Linked DNA regions of Homo sapiens: regions 1 and 2 are each linked to region 3. The links are contacts of gene promoters, found by promoter capture Hi-C in blood cells and fetal thymus (Javierre and others, 2016). All regions are on one chromosome and are shown on one strand. The core of a region is centred on a gene start or on the middle of the fragment in contact, and the rest is flanking DNA. Distances in the headings are between cores, read along the strand shown.

Region 1 (2,742 bases), core at 97-2,596, 680 kb after region 3:
CATCTTTTTTTCTGCCATAGGATTTTATTTGGTAAGGATGTGCTGTCTGTCATTTACAGTTCAAAAGCCAAAATCAAAATTAACGTGATAATCTCTTCTAATTCAGAAATTTCACAATCTGTTGTTTCATCCTCTGCCTCTTAACTCTTCAGGGTCAGGAAACAACAGCAGTAAACTCCACACCTTGGATCCCAGTGGTAGAGTCAAGGTACTCCGCAAAGACTTCTGGATGACCTTGAGTCTGGGGGTAAAGTTACACACAGCACTGTCTGGTAGGACACTCTGGTTCTCTAGTTATAATGCTAGGGACATGACTCTGCCTGCCTACTCCTCAAAAAACTGAGCAAAAAATTGGCCTCACCCCAGTGTTTGGCACCAGAATGAGTACCCGGTATGAATCTTTGTCCGCAAACATTTATATTTGTTTTAAAGCCACTGTGAGCCCCTAGCTGTTCTTCATTTTTGTCATTGCTGAGCTCTCCTTTCCTTCCCAGAGCTGCACCAGATTTAAGGAAGCTTATACAATACCCAGTAAGGCAAACCACCTTGACTATGGTCTCACCAGCACACCCCACTGTCCCAGACCACAGTGGCCCCTTTGATGCCCAGCAGCTCTCTGCTTCCTCCATGACCTCTGCAAGTAGGAGAATCTTTGTGGAGGCTGTGAATCCCAGTCCCATCACTTCTCTTCCTGTGACATCCCTTAAGTCTTCCTTCCTAGGGTCTTCTGCCTCCCAGAAGAAAGCCGGGGAGCCATGCTTCTCTACGACCTTTGCACCTCGCCCTCCTCCTAGACCAGGGGAAGTGTTTTCCTACATGAAAGCACCACCACACCCACCATGGCTTGTTTCACAGAGACATTCTTTCCTCAAATTCCATCTCCCCTTTGGAAATCAGGCTTTTAGAAAACACCAGGAAGCCTTGCACGCTAGGTCTGTTTTCTACCATACTAAGGCGCGGAGGCATGGAGAGACATAGGAAAAGGAGAAAAATACACAGAAGGAGAAAAAGGGGGAAAAACTCTAAATTAAAACCTCCGAACCCTGTTGCTAATATGTATGGTAGTGATAAACATAGCACTTTGCATTCCTCAGGAGCATCTAGCCTGCTCTTCAAGAAATTGAATCAACATCGGGCAAAGAGAAGAAACTTGGGGTTTCTTTTTTTATTTTATTTTATTTTTTTTTTTTTGAGACGGAGTCTCACTCTATTGCCAGGCTGGAGTGCAATGGCACGATCTCGGCTCACTGCAGCCTCTGCCTCCTGGTTCAAGCAATTCCCCTGCCTCAGCCTCCCAAGTAGTTGGGACTACAGGCATGGGCCGCCACGCCCGGCTAATTTTTTTTTGTATTTTAGTAGAGACGGGGTTTCACCGTGTTGACCAAGATGGTCTCAATCTCCTGACCTTCTGATCCACCCGACTTGGCCTCCCAAAGTGCTGGGATTACAGATGTGAGCCACCACACCCAGCCAAACTTTGGGTTTTCAATGCCTTGGTTTTGTAAGAAAGGGGCAGGAAGGTTAAAGGTTCATTTTCAAGGCACCACTGACTCACCCTTTACAGATTGCTCTTAAAATCATTTTAATTTGTTAGAAAATGTAAATTGATTTTGCATCCTTTTTCCTGTAAATTGTCTGCACACAAGTAAAAGTCACTAATACTCAAAAAGACTTTTTTTTTTTTTTTTTTTTGAGATGAAGTCTTGCTCTGTTGCCCAGGCTGGAGTGCAAATGGCACTATCTTGGCTCACAGCAACCTCTGTCTCCTGGGTTCAAGCGATTCTCCTGTCTCAGCCTCCCAAGTAGCTGGGAGTACAGGCGGATGCCACCATGCCTGGCTATTTTTTTTTTTTTGTATTTTTGTGGAGATGGGGTTTCACCATGTTGGCCAGGCTGGTTTCGAACTCCTGACCTCAAGTGATCCACCCGCCTCGGCCTCCCAAAGTGCTGGGATTACAAGCGTGAGCCACAGTGCCTGGCCTAAAAAACTTCAATAACTCTCTCTGGAAAAGAATCAGTATTTACCTGTAGAGCCACTTTTGTGCTCCAATGACCTTAGCTGAGTTCGTCATAGGCCACATGGGCTAAGCTGGTGTCCCTCAATTTAGTAAAACACAGTCTATAAAATCCCACACTTGTAAAACACTCATTTGGCAAGTGGTTTTGCAAAAGTTGTAAAAGCTTACAAGTGGATATGCCAGGGATTCCTTTAAGTATCAAGATGTCCTTGAGTTTTCCAAAAATATGACTCAATTTAGAATCATGGAGGTATTGTAGCTTTTCAAAAGTATATCTTTGTAAAAGTACATGTGCCTGTACTCAGTGAAATGAATGTTAAGCCAGATAGAACATGAGATTTCACCAATAGGAAAGAAGAAAACTCCCTGCCAGACCTAAATAGTTGTTTCACCTATTTGGAAGAGTTGCAGAGTATGCAAAAGTGACTCAGCAAGTCACAGACACCAGCACAGAGGTGGACTCGGTTATGAGGCAGGACTCGTACAACAGGTTCTGAAGGCCCAGAGGTTAATGAAGTGGTTAAGCTAAGGGTAGCCCTCCCCAGGCTCCTGAGGAAGGAAAGTCAACAAGGACTTTTAGATATCTCCCCAGCAAAATCATATATTTCCTCTTGAAAAGTTACTGTTTTTTGACCAGGTTTGCATTCTTCTGGGTCTCTTGGTTTGTAAATAATTGTTTTCGTGCATTTAAGCAGTTAATCTGGCAAAGCTAATACTAATTTGA
Region 2 (2,700 bases), core at 170-2,669, 610 kb after region 3:
TGTAGAAGAAACAAGTCCTATGGCTAAACAAGTTTCAGAATCCCTGAATGCTCCAGCCGTCTTTCAAAAATTCAAGCTATGAGGGGTCCTGCAGTTTAAAAAATCCCTCACTTGGTTTAACCCAGTGCTTAGCAGATTTATTTCACCATGGAATCCCGTTTTCAAGTTAAAACCTATTTTTTAATTTATAGTGTATCTAAAACCTACCACGAAAAGCATACGTGTAGTGCAAAGCCATATTTTGAGTTACACATTTTTGAAATGGCACATTCCTCCTCATTCCTTCATTTGTATTCCACAGTATTAAGCACTTATTGTTTACAAGGCCCTGGGATGCACTTGACCTTCTTTCACAATCTCAACCTTGATGTGCTCTCCAGACAAAAGAGCACTCCCAGGAAGAAAAATGTTCTAACGACCTTACAGGCACCTTTGACCCTGTGACTTATCTTTGGAAAAGCGACAGGAGATTTGTTTATAAGCAAAGGTGGTGCTCTAGGGAAGGAAGCCAGGAAAGAGAATCCTCCCCACTCACCTTCACGGACTTTTGTCTGGCGATGTCCAGGGCTTGCGTCTCCTTGGGAGAATTTTAGACTATTAATCGTGAAAAGGAGTTCCCTCTCCTTTCATTCATTCCCCCGGGGGATGGATACCAATGGGTACCAGACCTAGCATTCCTTTCAACACAGGGGATTAAGGGGCGTGTGGTAAGAGGATCCATTTCAAAGAGCTGGTAGAAGATGATCAATGATCTAGGAAATCAGAGTTGAAGAAGGAACATCAGTGCCTTGAAATGTTCCCTAGAGCTCTGACCCCCACAAGGGTTTTAACTAAATGGCTACTTAGTTTATTGGATTTACCCACATAGCACATATTTAAATGAAATGGATGGAGGAAAGAACCTCTGCACTACATGGCAGAAAAATGACAAAAAGCTTTTGAAGGTCAGGGAACATAGCACAATCACTTTAGACTGGTGAGAAAATGAAATTCTTCTCAAGACCTTGTAGACCTGATGGTGCTATCAATTTTAAAACCAGTGTAGTGCTGTGGGAGGCGTGTGTTTCATACTAAGTGACTTGTACTGAATTGTAATAGCTTTGAGCATCCACTTGAGACCTTAATGAATGAGTTACATAAAATGTTAATATCATTAATGCCAGAGAAATTATTTATTTATTACTATCATCACATATTACAAAGCAGAGCTACCAAATCCTTGGCAAAAAAAAAAAAAAAAACACGAAAAAATCTTATTTTGGTGATTGTCTTTCACAGAGAAACAATCCAGTAATACCTAAAAGGAAAAGTTGACTAATTATGGAATTCATTTTTGCTCCCGAAATTCTTTGCTAGCCAATCTCATCTATGTGTAACCCTGCACAGTATAAAATATTATCTGAACTTTTTTAGCAAACTGAACAAACATGAAGAAGTTTGTATCTCTCGATGCATTTTTTTTTTTTTTTTTTTGAGACAGGGTCTCCTCTGTCACCCAGGCTGGAATGCAGTGGTGTGATCACAGCTCACTGCAACCTCGATCTCTCAGCCTCAAGCGATCCTCCTGTCTCAGCTTCCTGAGTAGCTGAGGCTACAGGTGCATGCCACCACACCTGATACATTTTTTTTTCACTAGTAATGAGGTCTCACTATGTTGCCTTGGCTGGTCTTGAACTCCTGAGCTCAAGCGATCCTTCTGTCTCAGCCTCCCAAAGTGCTGGGATTACAGGTATGAGCCACAACTCCCAGATCAATTTTTTTTTATGTAGTATTTTCCAGGCTTAACCTACACATTTTACTGTGAGATGAAAACATCTGTCATATATAATAACAATGCACCAAATTCCAAAATAGTTTGGTGAAGGGCTATTTTCAATGTTTGGCAATGCTATTAAATATATGAAGAAGCTTTCAACTGCAGAAGATAATCATCCGTGAGGAGTGTGTGTGTGGATGTGTAGATGAAAGCATCCTTTGCTAGAGTGTTTGTATATGTGTATATGTATGTGTAAATAACATTTACTAGGGCTACATTAACCAAATACCACAGACTGGGTGGCTTAACCAACAGAAATTTATTTTCTACTTTCTCCAGAGGTTGGAAGTCCAAGATCAAGGTGTCGGCCTGTTTGATCCCTTCTGAGTTCTCTTCTTCCTGTGTTCTCACATGGCCTTTCCTCTGGGCACCAACTCCTGGTGCCTCGATTTTCCATCCAAGGTTTCTTTTCTTATAAGGATAACCAGTACGACTGGATTAAGACCCACCCTAAGAGTCTCGTTTTAAGCTAAGCACCTCTTCAAAGGCCTTGTCTCAAATACAGTCACTGAGGTACCGGGCATTAGAGCTTCAACCTAGGAATTTGGGGGATACAGCAACTTAGCCCATAGCACATAGTATATATAGAAATGCATAATTGGAAGGAAAATTGTAAGTATTGTCACCACTGTTAATATTTTTCCTCCATGTGTGTGCCATCATTTAGACTGCTCAAGTGAGATGCCAGTGTAAAAATTTTCACCTAAAATTAAGTGATGATCAGTAGTTCATAAGGAAAACTTTAGTCTAAACAGTAGTTTACTTAAAACCATTACTCCAGGAAGCCTTTTGTATTCTTTCTTATTTAAATAATTATAAAATAATTTGCATCCATACATGGTTAGTTAGGAAATGGGGGAAAATGCAGAAATATGATTTCAAAG
Region 3 (2,901 bases), core at 390-2,889:
AGTCCCGGGGTTTGGGAAACCAGAACCCCCCTGCGACTGTAGGGAACGTTTTGGGTGCGCCTATGTCGGGTATTTTCCTGGGCAAAAGGACAGAAGCTGTCATCTGATTCTTTAAGGGGTTCGTGTCCCAAGAGGGGGTTAAGCTCTCTTGGTTTAGGATAAGAGGGCCCACCTAACCACCCACCCAAATGCCAAACACACAGCAGGTCGAGAAACGACTCTGAAATCACTCCTTGTCCACTTCCCAAGGTCGGGCGAGAGACTGGCACGCCCCACGGGCAATCTTCAGAAAAAAAGGTCAGATCTGGTCCTTAAACAGCTCAGGTGCGAAGCTGAATCGCCCTTCTGCGGAAAGAGAGGAGACAGTACCTGCCCCCGCCGTCCCTCACTTCCCTTAGTCCCAAGAAGAGGTCAGACACCGGGAAATGGGGCCCAGGCGCTTGGTCTGTTCCACCTGCCACTCGAGTCCCCAGTCCCAAGAGGCTGCTCAGACATTGGCATGATGGGGAAACTCGATTGATTTTGTTACCTCCTAGAGGGAAAATGCCGTGGGCGGAGATGTCTGAGCGTCCCTTCCAACACGAGCTGGGTGGTGCTCTATTGATTTTCACGCGATCCCCGGGCGGGAGCGAGAGGATAGGCTCGGATTCCCGGGCTCCAGGACCGAACGCCTGGCAGTGTCCCCGGGGGCAAAGCCACCCCGGGAGCCCGTGCAGTATACTAGGTGGGGGGCCCGGAGAGAAAGCATAGCGCCGACGAGGGGGAGGGGCCGGGCAGAAAGGAGGGTGGGGTACCGGGTGGGACACACTGACCTAGGAGAAAGTACAACCCACCCCAAACTTTCGCAGACCCGGGAGCTTAGGAAGGGAGAGCCAGGAAGACAGCAGCCTCTCCTGCCGCCCAACGTGCCCAGCTGCAGCGAGGAGGGGCGGCGCGCAAGCCGGCTGGACCCGGGCGGTCCCCACGTTGCGCCCACCCTCCGGGCCAAAACGCCGCCGCTCGGGTCACTGAGTGGCCGCCCACGGAAGAAGTCAGATCGCCGGGCTCTGGGCTGCGTACGGGATCCGAGGAAGGGGGATTCAAACGCGGATCCGGAAGGAAGGGACACTGAACCCCGCAGCGTCCCCAGCGCCGTGGGGCGGCGGGACGTGTCCTTGGGCTGCCAGCGGGCGCGGAAGCTGGAGTCCGGCAGGGTCGGGAAGAAGTGAGCACAGACTTCCACGGGTAGAAGAGTCAGATTAAACAGAAATGTGAAAAGCAACCCAGGGCAGCCAACGGAGCCCAGCAGCGTAGAAGCCACCGGCTTCCCGCCGGGAGGACTACAGTGACTGACACTCGCGAAGACTAGGCGCTCCCAGCGGCCGCGGGTCTGCGTGGAGAAGTCGCCTCGCGGCGCGGAGCGCGCCAGCGGCGGCGGCGGCTGCCAGAGCGCGAGATGCGGCGCGCAGCCGCCGGACCGTCCCGGCTGGGAAAACTCGCGGGCGGCACTGCGCAGCGCTGACCCGGCGCAGGTCCGAGGGGTGTGCCCCGGCCCCTCCCGTCTCCGCCCCCTCCCGCGCCAGTCGCGCGCCCCTCCCCGCGGCGGCAGCGTCGGCGGCGCATCCAGGGGCGGCGCGGAGCCTTGCTCAGCCCAGCAGCCAGTGCCTGCGAGCTCCGCTGCTGCTTGGGGAATTCACTTTGCTGCTTGTTCGCTTCTCCCTTCCTCAGGCTTCTTCTGATGGTTTTCCGTCTCCTGCCCGAGCCTTTCCTTTAAAAGGAAAACTTTACTGCGATACCCTTTTCCCCTTGGAGGAGAGGATTAAAAGTTCCAAGAACTGGTGCCGCCCGTGCCATTTGGGCGCTGGGAAGGTGCTCGGCGGCGGGGTTCCCGGTCCCACCATGTGCACCAACATAGTTTACGAGTGGCTCAAAGCGCTGCAGCTTCCGCAGTACGCGGAGTCCTTCGTGGATAACGGCTACGATGACCTGGAGGTGTGCAAGCAGATCGGGGACCCGGACCTGGATGCCATCGGGGTGCTGGCGCCCGCGCACCGCCGCCGTATCCTGGAGGCCGTGCGCCGGCTGCGGGAGCAGGACGCCAACGCCGCCGGCCTCTACTTCACGCTTGAGCCGCAGCCGGCGCCCCCCGGGCCGCCCGCCGACGCCGTCCCCACCGGCCGCCGGGGGGAGCCGTGCGGCGGCCCGGCCCAGGGCACCCGCGGGGACTCTCGCGGCCACACGACCGCCCCCCGCAGCAGGGAGCTGGTGAGCTACCCCAAACTGAAGCTGAAGATCATGATCAGGGATAAGCTCGTCCGTGACGGCATCCACCTGAGCAAGCCCCCGTACTCCCGCAAGGTAAGGAGGTGCCGTCCGGGCGGCCCGGGGCGCGCGGCGGGAGGGGACACAGCCCAGCTGCCTGTGCCAAGGCTTTGCAACCCATTCCAGGTGACGACGGAGAGGCCAGGAGGCTTTGGGTATCTGGGACCCTTTTCTATGTTCTTTCTGTATTAGCCCATTATTTCGTCCTTCCTGGTGTCTCCAGTGGTTGGTAAGACAAGCCCCCGCATCCAGATGTTATCTCTAAACTAACGACCAAAACTCCGCATCCTCTCTGGTGCTCGCCTGTCAGGAATCGGACTCGCGCTGCTTCACCTGGTAGCCAGGGGGAATTCCTAACGCCCTCTATAGTAGTTTTGGGTTTGAAGAGTACCAGAAAAAATGGTTAATACCTACATTGCTTTCTACCTTCCTTTTTCTCTTTCTTTTCCTTTTTTGAGTCTTGAGAAACTCCTAAGGGAAATCGGTGAACTCTTTAAAGAGTGGAAAGTCAGGCCCTGCCTTTCTCAATTCCATAAAAAATCCCAGCGCTGCTGCAAATTTGAGAAGCTTACCATTCACATGAGCATTTTAAGAGGAAAA

Evidence for each region. The method cuts DNA at HindIII sites, captures the fragments that hold promoters and counts their contacts. A CHiCAGO score of 5 or more calls a contact.
Region 1: a contact is called between a fragment that was not itself captured here and the fragment with the promoter of SAMD5 in region 3, in 1 of 17 cell types (megakaryocytes). The highest score is 5.2, in megakaryocytes.
Region 2: a fragment that was not itself captured here is called in contact with the fragment with the promoter of SAMD5 in region 3 in 1 of 17 cell types (M0 macrophages); the score reaches 5.3 in M0 macrophages.

Annotation. Positions count from the first base shown.
Region 1 is chr6:148,189,520-148,192,261 of GRCh38, forward strand. No RefSeq gene overlaps it. Among named protein-coding and RNA genes, the nearest start is that of SASH1, 150 kb to the right of the region's middle. The HindIII fragment of the contact is 1,665 bases long and covers 515-2,179 here.
Region 2 is chr6:148,121,601-148,124,300 of GRCh38, forward strand. No RefSeq gene overlaps it. Among named protein-coding and RNA genes, the nearest start is that of SASH1, 220 kb to the right of the region's middle. The HindIII fragment of the contact is 973 bases long and covers 934-1,906 here.
Region 3 is chr6:147,507,051-147,509,951 of GRCh38, forward strand. SAMD5 (sterile alpha motif domain containing 5) reads left to right here and starts at 1,640. Exons shown (of 2, transcript NM_001030060.3): 1 at 1,640-2,337. The coding sequence starts at 1,879. The HindIII fragment of the contact is 12,433 bases long and covers 1-2,866 here.